Linked DNA regions of Homo sapiens: region 2 is linked to region 1. Evidence: promoter capture Hi-C in 16 types of primary human blood cells and fetal thymus (Javierre and others, 2016). All regions are on one chromosome and are shown on one strand. Each heading gives the region's core, a stretch centred on a gene start or on the middle of the fragment in contact. The rest is flanking DNA. Distances are from core to core; before and after follow the strand shown.

Region 1 (6,461 bases), core at 975-3,474:
AAACTCTATAGATTCCTTTTCCCATATTCTCAATTTAGTGCTTTTAAAGGCCTAGAATAAGGGCATAGGTTAGAAAAAAATTAAATTACATTTTATATTTTATAGTAGTTGGTCTCCTGTATTTTCTGGCAGCAACTTTTATTACAGGACAAAGGGCCAAGATATCTTTAGCTATCCATGCAAAGAATAGTCCAGCCATTTGTACTAGTTTTATGGGAATTTATAGCCATAACACTGAATGTCTATAATGAATGAATTGAATGAATTTATAGACATGAGCCAACATGAGGGCAGATTCAAATGTTGCTAGAGGCTCCGGGGTGAGTGGAATGACTTCTCAATTTATTCTCTAGAGGCCAGTGATTCTATGATGTATTTTTTTCTTGTGTCATTCAGAGTATTATTCTTTTAAAAATTTAGGGTGAACTATTTTTGCCATCTATGCTTGTTTCTTCTTCCTTCTAATAAAATAGCCTTCATTAATGTATATGGTTTTAGTTATGATTAAATATTACTTTAGATGGCAAGTATTTAATTTTCTTAGTGTGCTTTTTGAATTGCTTAAACCTCATTAATGCCATGAAAAACCTAAATGAACCATATCTTTGTACTTGCGTTTGGCAGATAGAGAAAAGATTATTTATGTATTGAATTGATAATCAAGTGGAATTGTCAATGAAATTAAGATGATGAGATGTGATCCTCACCAGTGGCTACTTTTAGAAATTTACATTCAGAAAAATTTGATCCTGAATGGGCTCCTGATGAGTAAGATTGGGAAATCAGGACCAAAATGAAACAGATGGACAAAGAAGAGACCAAGGCCTCCATGTGCCTGCAGAATCTTCTGTCAGGATCTTGAGAGATAAGAACAAAAGAGGATTTTGAACAGTCTCAGAAAATACTGAGGTTTAGATTTTTTGATGTGTGTGTGTTTGTGTGTGTATAACAAGAGTTTTTGACAGCTTGATTTTGCAAAGAGCAAATGTATATACAATTTGTGTGTGGACCCAGTAATGTATTTCTAGTAGATATGTAGATATGCAAAAATATTTATAGAGAACTATTTCCACCTCATCATCACCCAATTTTTATGACGTGGTGGCTCGGCTTAAGCTAGTCCTACTTTTACAGACAACTTTGTTAAACTGATTGTTGAGATAAGGCAGTTGGTTCAAAACTTACCACAAAGGAAGGTGGAAATCAGAAGGATGGTTCTCAGACCCTGAGATGGGAGGGCTGCTGAGGTGATATCAGCATTGCAGAACCAAAGCTCCCCTATTTCTTTCCCAAATCAGACTCAGGATCACCTTTCTAGCTCACACACTCAAAGCAGCTTTTTACAAGATCTACAATAAGGGCCTAGATTGGGAATGAATAAATAAACAAGTCTACCCTTTTGCTCTTAACTGTTTTCACTCTCTCCTGGGAAAGTGAAAAAAAAAAAAAAAGGAAGTACATCATAGTATCATAGGAAGATTGAATTCTAAAAATTTGTATGTCATTTTAGTATGTTTCGGTATAGCTTCAGTTTCCACTAGTAACTTTCCTTAGCCATATCACTCTGTCCAGAGTTTTCCAGATCAACTTCTTTATTTCATGACTAATGCATACTTCCACTTACCTTCCTAACTCTCCTCTTCCCCTTCCCCTGCAAGCCCTTCCACCTACCTGCTTTAGGATAGGTAGAAATAAGCAGGTCATCAGGCTTGGCTTGGAAGTTCCAGATCTTATCCCAGATGTCACAGGTGTCTGTCGGTTGAAGAATTCCCTTCACGTAGTTGACACTTAAGCGCTTTGTTCCATCAAATGTAAAATCCTCCATGTCGTGTAAGGCCATTAGTGTAAGAAATCAGAGGGCTCTTCCAGACACAAAGTTATCTTCAGTCAGCATATGGCTGCGTTGTGGATAGAGGCAGCACTCTATCCACCACACTACCACACTATCCAGCCCTCTAGCACAGGCCTGTCTGGGCCAGCAAACAGGGAGAAAGTGAGTTGCAGGCCTCCCGACTCAGGTTCCAGGGAACTGGAACTCTTGTTTATGACTTTGTCCACTGGCAGTTTCCTGAGGAACTGCAGCCCCCTCCTCACCAGGCTGTGGCGTCACAGCAGAGGCGGCCACAAACCCTGCTGGCCAGCAAACAGGGAGAAAGTGAGCTGCAGGTCTCCCGACTCAGGTTCCAGGGAACTGGAGCTCTTGTTTATGAATTTGTCCACTGGCAGTTTCCTGAGGAACTGCAGCCCCCTCCTCACCAGGCTGTGACGTCACAGCAGAGGCGGTCACAAACCCTGCTGGCTGGGTCCCGTTCCAGCCCTTCCGTTCTCTGTGAGTTAACAGGACATAGTATCACATTGTTTATAGCTCTCATGTCTGTGTCCATTAAACCCTTCATAGATAATTTCAGTAATTATTCCTTCTGGGAATTTTAAACAATTAAAAAGTTGCAGGACTTGCCTGTGAAATTACAGATTCTACACAGAATGACTTCCCTGAGAGACTGCAGGGACTTTCCCGTGGGCTATTAACAGTGGGGGCCTGGATGGATCTGAATCTCCCAGTACAAACATCTGCCAGGGTCAGCTTTGTTATTTTTTAAGAGTAAAATAAATAATGCTAAACTGGAGAATTGTAGGGGTTTCATCACAGCTATGAAAACATGTATGCCTCATTTAAAGCAAAAGGGATGCAGAAAACTCCAGAGTTAACAGAAGACAGTGGCTGCCTTAGGAATCCATTCTGCCCCTGATAATCAGAAATTTCACAACTTGCTTCAGTCCCTGCCCCCGGCCTGGCCTGCACCCCAGGGCCATGCCACACTTGCTCCCCATGGCAGCACTCCTTCTGGAGATCTTGTCGGCTCTTGTGTGTCTGGCTGTCTGATTCTCTTTCTTCGTGTCCCAGCTTTGATGCCCCCTTTCTGGAGAAGCCTTCTTTGACTTTCTATGTCATCTCAAGTAGGTCCCTCCTATTTCCTTGCTCATGGCACTTTGTGTTCCTTTAGAGCAACCATTGACAGTTAGTTTTTGCGTGTTTACTTGTTGGCATTTTCTGTCTCCTTCACTACACTCTAAGGCACATGAAATGGGGCCTGTTGTTTTCTCACTGTTTGATAGCTGTATGCCTAGTGTCTGGCATTCTTCTATTTCTCGAAAGAATGAATGAGTAAAACTAAGCAAAAATTGAGGAAGCGAGTTCCTTGGGCCATCATTATGTGGGGACTAGGTGAGTATGGTGGCTGTGGCTTGACATCCTTCAGAGAGAAGTCAGGCTGCCTGTATTTGAACCCTGTGCCAAGTCCCAGTAGCTGTGGGCAATGGCAGGTTACAGAATCTTTCTCTGTTTCATATCACGCTTTTCCTCAGGTCTGAATTGGGGATCTTAACATTATCTACCTCATGGTTGTGGGGAGATAAAACAGCTTATTTAATGCTTGGCAACAGGGAAATGTTGAATAAATCATAGCTGTTAATAATAATGGGTGACTTTGTTCACCATTTCTCTGTGGCCCATGTTCTGGATGCAAACTCAGAAAAGATCAATTCTTTGGCTTTCCCTATTCCTCATCCCCTCCCTCCAGACCATGGTGAGGTGGATGGGCCCTTGAGACAGAGACTGCCAGGTGGAATGCCTGGGATGCATATGCATTTAAACAGACTTATAAAAATCACCTATAATTTTTCAGTTAGATTTTATTCTATAATCTTTTTGGCCCTGTGTGCCATCAGAGTAGAGTGGTAGATATTCAGCAATGCCTTAGCAGTTTTCTCCAGTGCGTTGTGTGCTAGAGGGGGAGGGCTGGGAGATGGGGGAGGATATGCTTCTGGACCCAAAGATGACTGACTGGGATTGAAAATAGATCCAGGGAAGATGGGAAGTTCCAAATAATTTGAAAAGTGATCTTGACTACAAACACTGCTCTTATTCTCACTTAATGTTTTTACTCAATAGTACTTTCTCATGAGGTTAGGAGAATTAAATAAATATATTTAGTGATTATAAGAATAAAGTTGGTGCTAAGTCTATATTTGACAAGCATTGCTTTGGAATTCTAAATATATGGGTTTGAATTTAAACTGCCCCCTAATAGCTGTGTAACTTTTCTAATACTTATCTCTTCTGAGCCTTTCGTTTTTTATTAATCTCACAGGGTTAATGTAATGTTGGATGTAAATAAGGTATCCTATAATCTTGGGATATATTGGGTACCCAAGATAAAGCTAATATACTCTCCCCCTCTAATTCTTCCCTGAACCTCCCTTTCAACTCTGTCACTGTTTGCTTCTGAGCATGGAGAGGAGATTCCAACTCTTAACGCGCTTTAGATGTCCTTTTTGCAAACTACTAACTTGTTCAGGCCTCAAATGTGATTCATTTGCAAAATTTGTAACTGGGGTTTCCAAACTCTTTTTTTGTTAGTAAAATCCAGCATGCTGGTTACTACCCTTAAACAGGTCTCTGTTTGTTTGCTTTTTACGAAAGGAATATGTAGGCAGGGCATGGTGGCTCATGCCTGTAATCCCAGCACTTTGGGAGGCCGAGGCAGGTGGATCACGAGGTCAGGAGATTGAGACCATCCTGGCTAACACGGTGAAACCCCGTCTCTACTAAAAATACAAAAAATTAGCCGGATATGGTGGCAGGTGCCTGTAGTCCCAGCTAGTCGGGAGGCTGAGGCAGGAGAATGGCATGAACCCAGGAGGCGGAACTTGCAGTGAGCCAAGATCGCACCACTGCATTCCAGCCTGGGCAACAGAGTGAGACTCCATCTCAAAAAAAAAAATAAATAAATAAAATTAAAAAAAAGGAATATGTCTAAAAGACGTTTTGACTCGGCACACTGTTTTAAAACACACCCGGCCAGGCGCGATGGCTCATGCCTGTAATCCTAGCATTTGGGAGGCCAGGGTGGGCAGATCACCTGAGGTCAGGAGTTTGAGACTAGCCAGGCCAACATGGCGAAACCCTGACTCTACTAAAAATAGAAAAATTAGCCAGGCGTGATGGTGCATGCCTGGAATCCCAACTACTCAGGAGGTTGAGGCAGGAGAATCACTTGAACCCTGGAGGTGGAGTTTGCAGTGAGCTGAGACTGCACCACTGCACTCCAGCCTGGGTGACAGAGCGAGACTCGGTCTCAAAAAAAAAAAAGATACCCATTGGAGAGTGAGCTAAGCCTGTGTTGAAAAAGTTGAATTGTAATGGTCTTTGTTCTTTGAATCAATATTTAGCTTAGAGGTATTGTAAATGACTTATTTGTTGTTCAATACTTGAAACCGAAGCAAGAGGAAGAACTAACAAGTCCACATAATTAAAACTGGAATCAAATCCAGATTGTTCAGATATTGATAAATATGGTTTATTCATAACTTCTTTTCCCCCTTCCTCTATTTAGATGGCCTTAAGGCCATTCTGTTTGCAGTACACTATTCCAGGAGCTGAGTAGGGAGAAAATGAAACTCAAATGAATTATATTACTCTTTGCTATAATACTTTAATCAGCTTCAGAGGTTGGAGGTAACTGTAAGCACTTAGTGAGATGAAGCAAGGATGTAGGCAATCTATAATTTCAGACAATTCCTTAAAACATAACCTAAGAACCCCTTACATTCTCAGAAAAATGAAAAGCTGTGTCAAATGCTGGGTCATGTAGAGCTTCCAGCTGTAGCAAATATAGATACAGGATGCCCAGTTAAATTTGAATTTTAGATAAACAGTGAATTAATTTTTAGTACATGCATTTTCTGTGCAATATTTGGAATATACTTATTCTTCAAAATAAATCACTGGTTGTTTATTTGAAATACAAATGTGAGTGGGCATCCTGTATTGCATCTGTCAACCATAAGTAGGGGAGCAGTTCTGGCCAAGTCTAACTCCAAAACAGAAAAACTCCAGGAGCTCAATCAGTGGGATTAGAAACATGCCTGAAGCAGAAAGCCTTTCAGAATTGCACATGAGCTGGGTGACCACTTGCCTCTTTTCCCTGGCTCATGGGGAAAACTTCATACTTTCCAGTTGTTAGCATCTCTGCCAGCCTCTCCTCTGGGCCTGGAGATTCACCCAGCTTGTTTTGTGGAGATGGCACCACCTTTATTGGGGGAACCCACACCTGATAATTCAACATGAGTCCTTTTCTATTTTCCCTAAGTGTCGGCCGATCTGAGAAATAAAGGGAAAGAGTACAAAGAGAGAAATTTTTAAAGCTGGGTGTCCGGGGGAGACATCACATGTCGGCAGGCTCCTTGATGCCCCTGAGCCGCAAAACCAGCAAGTTTTTATTAGTGATTTTCAAAAGGGGAGGGAGTGTACAAATAGGGTGTGGGTCACAGAGATCACATGCTTCACAAGGTAATAAAATATTACAAGGCAAATGGAGGCAGGGCGAGATCATAGGACCGGGACGAAATTAAAATTGCTGATGAAGTTTCAGGCACGCATTGTCATTGATAACATCTTA
Region 2 (6,512 bases), core at 3,378-5,877, 200 kb before region 1:
GCGGTCAGATCACTTGAGGTCAGGAGTTCAAAATCAGCCTGGCCAACATGGTGAAACCTCATCTCTACTAAAAAATACAAGTTAGCCAGGCGTGGTGGTGGGCGCCTGTGGTCCCAGTTACCCGGGAGGCTGAGGCAGGACAATCGCTTGAACCCAGGAGGCAGAGGTTGCAGTAAGCTGAGATCACACCACTGCACTCCAGCCTGAGCGAGAGTAAGACTCCATCTCAAAAAAAAAAAAAAGAAACAGCAACAACAAAATAACAGGATAAATGCTTTCCACAGACTATTCTGAATGGACATAGATCTTTATTTAAAAAATTTGTTCAATGCCCAATACACTTGCGTATCTTTTCCTCCCGGGACTTTAAAAAAATCTGGGATAATTTCACCTAACTTGATTTACCCAATCTATCAAGTGCTAATCAGTGTCTCCACCTTTATATACTCTTCATAGGTCCTTGTTATGAAAGTCATTTATAACCCCAAATGTTCATCATACTCATCTCTATGTATATGCTCATCTCTATGTATATGCCCTATGTCACTCAGGAAAACATTAGTTTACTAACCATCTCTCATTTAAAAACAAAACCCTTTGGGCCAGGCGTGGTGATTTACGCCTGTGGTCCCAGCACTTTGGGAGGCCTAGGCGGGCAGATCATCTGAGGTCAGGAGTTCGAGACCAGCCTGCCTAACATGGTGAGACCCCTCTCTACTAAAAAAAAAAAAAAAATACAAACATTAGCCAGGCGTGGTGGTGCGCGCCTGTAATCCCAGCTACTCATGAGGCTGAGGCATTGCTTGAACTCGGGAGGCAGAGGTTGGAGTGAGCTGAGATCACGCCACTGCACTCCAGCCTGGGCAATAAGAATGAAACTCCATCTAAAAAACAAAACAAAACAAAAAAACAACAAAAAACACCCCTTTTTAATATATTCTAACCATTGTCTTAAAGGATTTGAGTTTCTAAATAGAATATAAAGGAACAATTAAGGGCAAAATGTTCATAGGTGGTAATGTTAGTACCACCTATGAAAATAAAGCATAAAGTCCAAGCAAATTTCATCCTTCACTCAATTTATAATTTCATGGCATTCCCAGAAAACTTAGTGCTTATTGAAACTGTTGAAAAGTACTTCATGATGGTATCTTTTTTATTTTTATTTTGAGACAACATCTTGTTCTGTTGCCCAGGCTTGAGTGCCCAGGCAGTGGTATGATCTTGGCTCACTGCAACCTCTGCCTCCTGGATTCAAACAATCCTTCCACCTTAGCCTCCCAAGTAGCTGGGACTGCAGGCACATGCCACCACACCTAGCAAATTTTCATATTTTTAGTAGAAATGGGGTTTCAACATGTGGCCAGGCTGGTCTCGAACTCCTGGACTCAAGTGATCCACCGACCTTGGCCTCCCAAAGTGCTGGGATTACATGTGTGAGCCACTGCGCCCAGCCGATGATATCTGAAACAGATATCAACCTAAACCTGATGATGTCAACCTAAACACAGTTAGGTTCTATGTTCATCATTATACAAAGGTGTTTTTCTTTCTTACGTTTTTAACCAGCATCAAAGTCCTGTGGATGCATACTTCATGACATTCAGCATCTCTGGCCTCAGGCCATTTAGTGCCTATGGTACCCCTTTCCTGAAACCATCGAGATAAACTAAAAATGCTCCACAAGTTCCCACTTGCTCCTTAGGGAACAGTTTCAGATCTGCTGAGGACGACAGACCCAGAGGATTTCTGAGGCCATTAAGCATTAATGCTAGAAGTACTCACTGAAGTACCTAAGGGAACCGCTTGTCAGGGTTTGACTTAACTCATCAATATCACACAACATTGAATACTAGTAAAACTAAAGCACTGTAACTAAATTCATTTATCAACTTTACATTTTAATCAAAGAAGTCCCCAACTTGAAATATTTTCAAACTCTGACTATATCAAGAAAACAGTGTCATCATATAGCAAGTATTTTTTGTTTGTTTTTTTTTTTTTTGAGATGGAGTTTCACTCTTGTTGCCCAGGCTGGAGTCCAATGGCACAATCTTGGCTCACTGCAACCTCTGCCTCCTGGGTTCAAGCAATTCTCTTGCCTCAGCCTCCCTAGTAGCTGGGATTACAGGCATGCGCCACCACTCCCGAGTAATTTTGTATTTTTAGTAGCGATGGGGTTTCACCACGTTGGTCAGGCTGGTCTTGAACTCCTGACCTCAGGTGATCTGCCTGCCTCGGCCTCCCAAAGTGCTAGGATTACAGGCATGAGCCACCGTGCCCAGCCTATAGCAAGCCTCTTCTAAACATAATAACATCTAAGAAAGAGCCCTAAATAGCAGCACTTAGTCCTAAAAGCCCCTAAGCTCTGGGGGCCTTTCTGAGTTTGGGAAAGTTACTATAAAAGAAAAATCTGAGGAACAATACAATTTTAAAGAGTTTATTTGAGTAAGAAGCAATTCATGAATTGGGGAACACCAGACGAAAAAAGTTTTAGTGTCCCAATGACAAAAAGTCAGAGACAAGTATTTACTGGGAAACGTAGAAGCAAAATAAAGAAATTATTTGATTGATTTGAAATTACAGAATTGCCTTTTTTTAGGTACCTTGTTGGAAAGCCCCTAGTCACTTAGTCATATGTTAGTTGGCAGCTTACGACTGGCGGGGGTTAAGTTTTACTTCTAACATAAACATTTATCAAAATGACTCTACTTGTTCTGCTTATGTCTGCAATTTAAGCAAGGCTGAGGTAACATATAAGGCCTAACTGGTTTTGTGCGCTCAGAGATTTCACAGGCCTGGTCTTCATTTTAACTTCCTTTAACAATACTCATTCCAAAACCCACTCAGACCCAAACCTGCCTAAGGTAGGGAAGCAGAAGGAAGCACGTTACAAATTCCATGGCAATACGGTGAGAAGATTTCAGCAGCCCAGGGACACAAAAAGAGAGTAACAACCTTGGCAGAGGCCACGATGCTGGAGTGAGAGGGCCCTGATGGCAGAGCTGGAACCCCACAAGTAATTTAATGGGGAAGTGTTGTTCATACCCAAGTGTTCTTAAATTAAATGTGGTCTGCTTAGATACTCCAACTTATTACTTCATAACTGAATGAAAGCCCCATCCCCCTCCTGAAACTCTCTCTCCTCCATGCAAGGGACCACTATGAACACAATGGTTCTAGTCCAAGCGAGAAACCTGAGAGTCATCTTCAACAACTTAATCATCCTCACACACCTCCCAATGTCCAGCTGCAAAGTCCTTTCTTCTCTGCCTCTTAACTGTTTCTGAATCGATTTACTACTTTATATCTGTACAGGCTGCATCTACTTCTGGCACCATCACCTCCTATGTGGATTAATGCAACAGCCTTGTAACTGGCCTCTGAACATCCCTCTTTCCTAATCACTGTTCCCAAACCACCTCTTCTCTGAGCTACCGTAACACTGCCTTCTGGGTGGTCATGTCATCCACATGGGTACCCATGTCGTCCACTCTCTGTTTCAGGTAACAGATCTAGTTGTCCTGACCACCTAACAGTCACCTACCTTGATTGACTAGGCATGGTGCTTCTTCCTATCCTCTGGCCACAATGACTGGTCCTGGTCCATTTGGACTATGGACTTGAACTAAGTTAATCAGATACTATTTCTCAAAGACTAGAAATCTGAGTAGAGACTAACACCCTGCAGTTAGAGGAAGTCAACTCAGAGCACTGCTCTATAGAGACATCCCACAAGTTCTGCAGAGACACCGGGAAAGCCCTAGTTGTTTGCCCTTCTCAGAGACCTGTAAGTTCAGCCCATTCTTCAATTCTGGGAGCAACCCCAGTATTTTTCCAGTAAATTTCTTTGAAGCTTCTGTTTGCCTGAGTCTATTCCTGTTGTTGATAATCAAGGAAACTACAGTGCCAGTAAAAACGGACCTGGCTGTCCTTGCTCCCACCCGGCATCCCCCAGCTCCAGCCCTCACTGCACAGGCTGCAGCCCTGCGGATCTGCCTGTCACATCTCAACAGCCCTCCTGGCCTGGTGCCTCTTGCCTTCCTCCCTAAACTCTTCTTGGGATGATTCCCATTCACACTCGGACTCAGTCAAGAGGTCGCTTCCTCTGGGAAGTTCTCCGGAAGGCCCTCTTGCTCCACAGGAATTTGCCTGTGTCCTTTAGTCTGACCTCAAGTTACAAGTGATGATTCCTGTTCACAGCTGTGCCCCATGCCAGTCATGCCTGGCAGAGGGCAGGCTCGCTGTGAATACTGTCAAACAAATGAGCAAATGAGGAAATCAGAAACACTTCAAATGAGTATTCAGGGAAGTGTAACACAAGTTTAAAAATAAATGTATTTCTCTGGAATCAAGAGACTCTAGGCATCCAATATTAAATTCATTGTATTTTAATATTAATTCATAGTCCAAATCATTTGACCATGCTTTTGCTTTGTGAAAATTCCTAAGTTGTGCACTTAAGATTTTTGCACTCTTGTGTATTACATATTAATAAAATTTTTAAAAACACATTTAACATCACTGAAAACCATAGATACAGACTAGTAATAAGTTCATATGCTTGGAAACATTATATAGTGGTAGAAGGTACACTGAGTACAAGTAAAATTATAGTCTTAATCATGCCACTTACTATAAGAGCTGTGACATCTTGGTTCGATAAAAATTCTTTATATTCAGCTTTAATATCCATAAAATAACATAATTACCATTTTGTCCAAATCTCAGGGCTACAGAATAGATTTTTTAAAATTATAAAGGTGAAAATTCAAATATAAGTTGTTTTTGTTACAAAATTTGGAATCATCTCAAAATGAATGTTAGTTAAACCAGTCAAAAAAAATTGGACTTTGGAAAACACAACACTTTGGCATGAAACTGCCTACAAAATCCCATGAATGCATACCAAAAAGTGATATAGGATAATGAATCCAGGATGCTAACCTGAAATTTAAGACTAAATTTATTCTTGAGGAACAAAAAAATGATATCCCTACATCATCATTTTTCTTTGTAAACTAGATTTAAAAATTATTTACATTTCATGACCAGGAGCAATGGCTCACGCCTGTAATCCCAGCACTTTGGGAGGCTGAGGCAGACAGATCACGAGGTCAGGAGATTGAGACCATCCTGGCTAACACAGTGAAACCCCATCTCTACTAAAAATACAAAAAAATTAGCCAGGCGTGGTGGTGGGCACCTGTAGTCCCAGCTACTTGGGAGGCTGAGGCAGGAGAATGGCGTGAACCTGGGAGGTGGAGCTTGCAGTGAGCTGAGATCGTGCCACTGCATTCTAGCCTGGGCCACAGTGAGAGACTCCGTCTCCAAAAAAAAAAAAAAAAAAAAAAATTATTTACATTCCATGAACTAAGACAAACATTTCTTAAGCTTATGATAACGGAAATGCTTTTAAGAGTTCAGCTAAGGCATTAACCTTCTGGCTGCAGTAATCTCAGAGAAGGGGGTGGAGGAAAGTGCAGATATTCCTTATTTCATATGGTGGAGATATTATAACATTTAAAACTACTTCAAAATAAGTGCTTGCATTTAAAGAGAGTATAACAAAATATGAAAGGATGTAGAGATTAAAAATATATGAAACACATCTTTACATATACACATGCTAATAAGCTCTTAAAAATAATTGAATGATAAAATGAACCATAATTAGAAATGGTGACTAACAGGCAATTTTATTGTATACCTCTCTATAGTATCAAAACATACAGGCTGGGCGCGGTGGCTCATGCCTGTAATCCCAGCACTTTGGGAGGCCAAGGCGGGTGGATCACGAGGTCAGGAGTTCGAGACCAGCCTGGCCAAGATGGTGAAACCCCATCTCTACTAAAAAATACAAAAATTAGCCAGGCGCAGTGGCGGACATCTATAATCCCAGCTACTCGGGAGGCTGAGGCAGGAGAATCACTTGAACCTGGGAGGTGAAGGTTGCAGTGAGCCGAGACTGTGCCACTGCACTCTAGATCGGGCGACAGAACAAGACAAGACTCCGTCTCAAAAAACAAAACAAAACAAAACAAAACATACAATCTCAGAATAGCATTTAACAGTCACACGGTAAGAGGAGAGAACAGATGGGCAAGACTTTATTTCTCAGAAAAAATAGATTTTCATTTTTTAACTGCTGAGCCAAAATACTTTATTAAGTTCCCAGAAATGCTAAACAGCTTTGTAAGAACATCTGAAGCACCTTTTTTCTCTCTCTCTTAAAAAATAAAGTACTACAATATAGATTCATGTTTGTTAAGAATGTAAAATACATTTTAAGAATGTAAAAACATTTAGTTATTGTAAAAATTAACTTTTGAGCAAATGCAAGTGTTAACCTACCCTTACCCACTCTGTACCATTAAAATAGGGGTAAGTAGAAAACAAATACATACACATTGAAAACTTCCATTTTCATTTCAGTGAATATTTACCCAATGACTACCATATCACTAACTGCTATAGGTACGGGGCACATAAGGATAACTAAGGCAGAGCCC

Evidence for each region. The method cuts DNA at HindIII sites, captures the fragments that hold promoters and counts their contacts. A CHiCAGO score of 5 or more calls a contact.
Region 2: a contact is called between a fragment that was not itself captured here and the fragment with the promoter of SULT1C4 in region 1, in 1 of 17 cell types (erythroblasts). The highest score is 5.9, in erythroblasts.

The regions. Positions count from the first base shown.
Region 1 is chr2:108,373,717-108,380,177 of GRCh38, reverse strand. It overlaps SULT1C4 (sulfotransferase family 1C member 4), which reads right to left and starts at 2,224. Exons shown (of 7, transcript NM_006588.4): 1 at 1,672-2,224. The coding sequence starts at 1,840. The HindIII fragment of the contact is 14,120 bases long and covers 1-6,461 here.
Region 2 is chr2:108,577,431-108,583,942 of GRCh38, reverse strand. All of the region lies in intron 1 of LIMS1 (LIM zinc finger domain containing 1), which reads right to left. Among named protein-coding and RNA genes, the nearest start is that of LIMS1, 46 kb to the right of the region's middle. The HindIII fragment of the contact is 1,538 bases long and covers 3,859-5,396 here.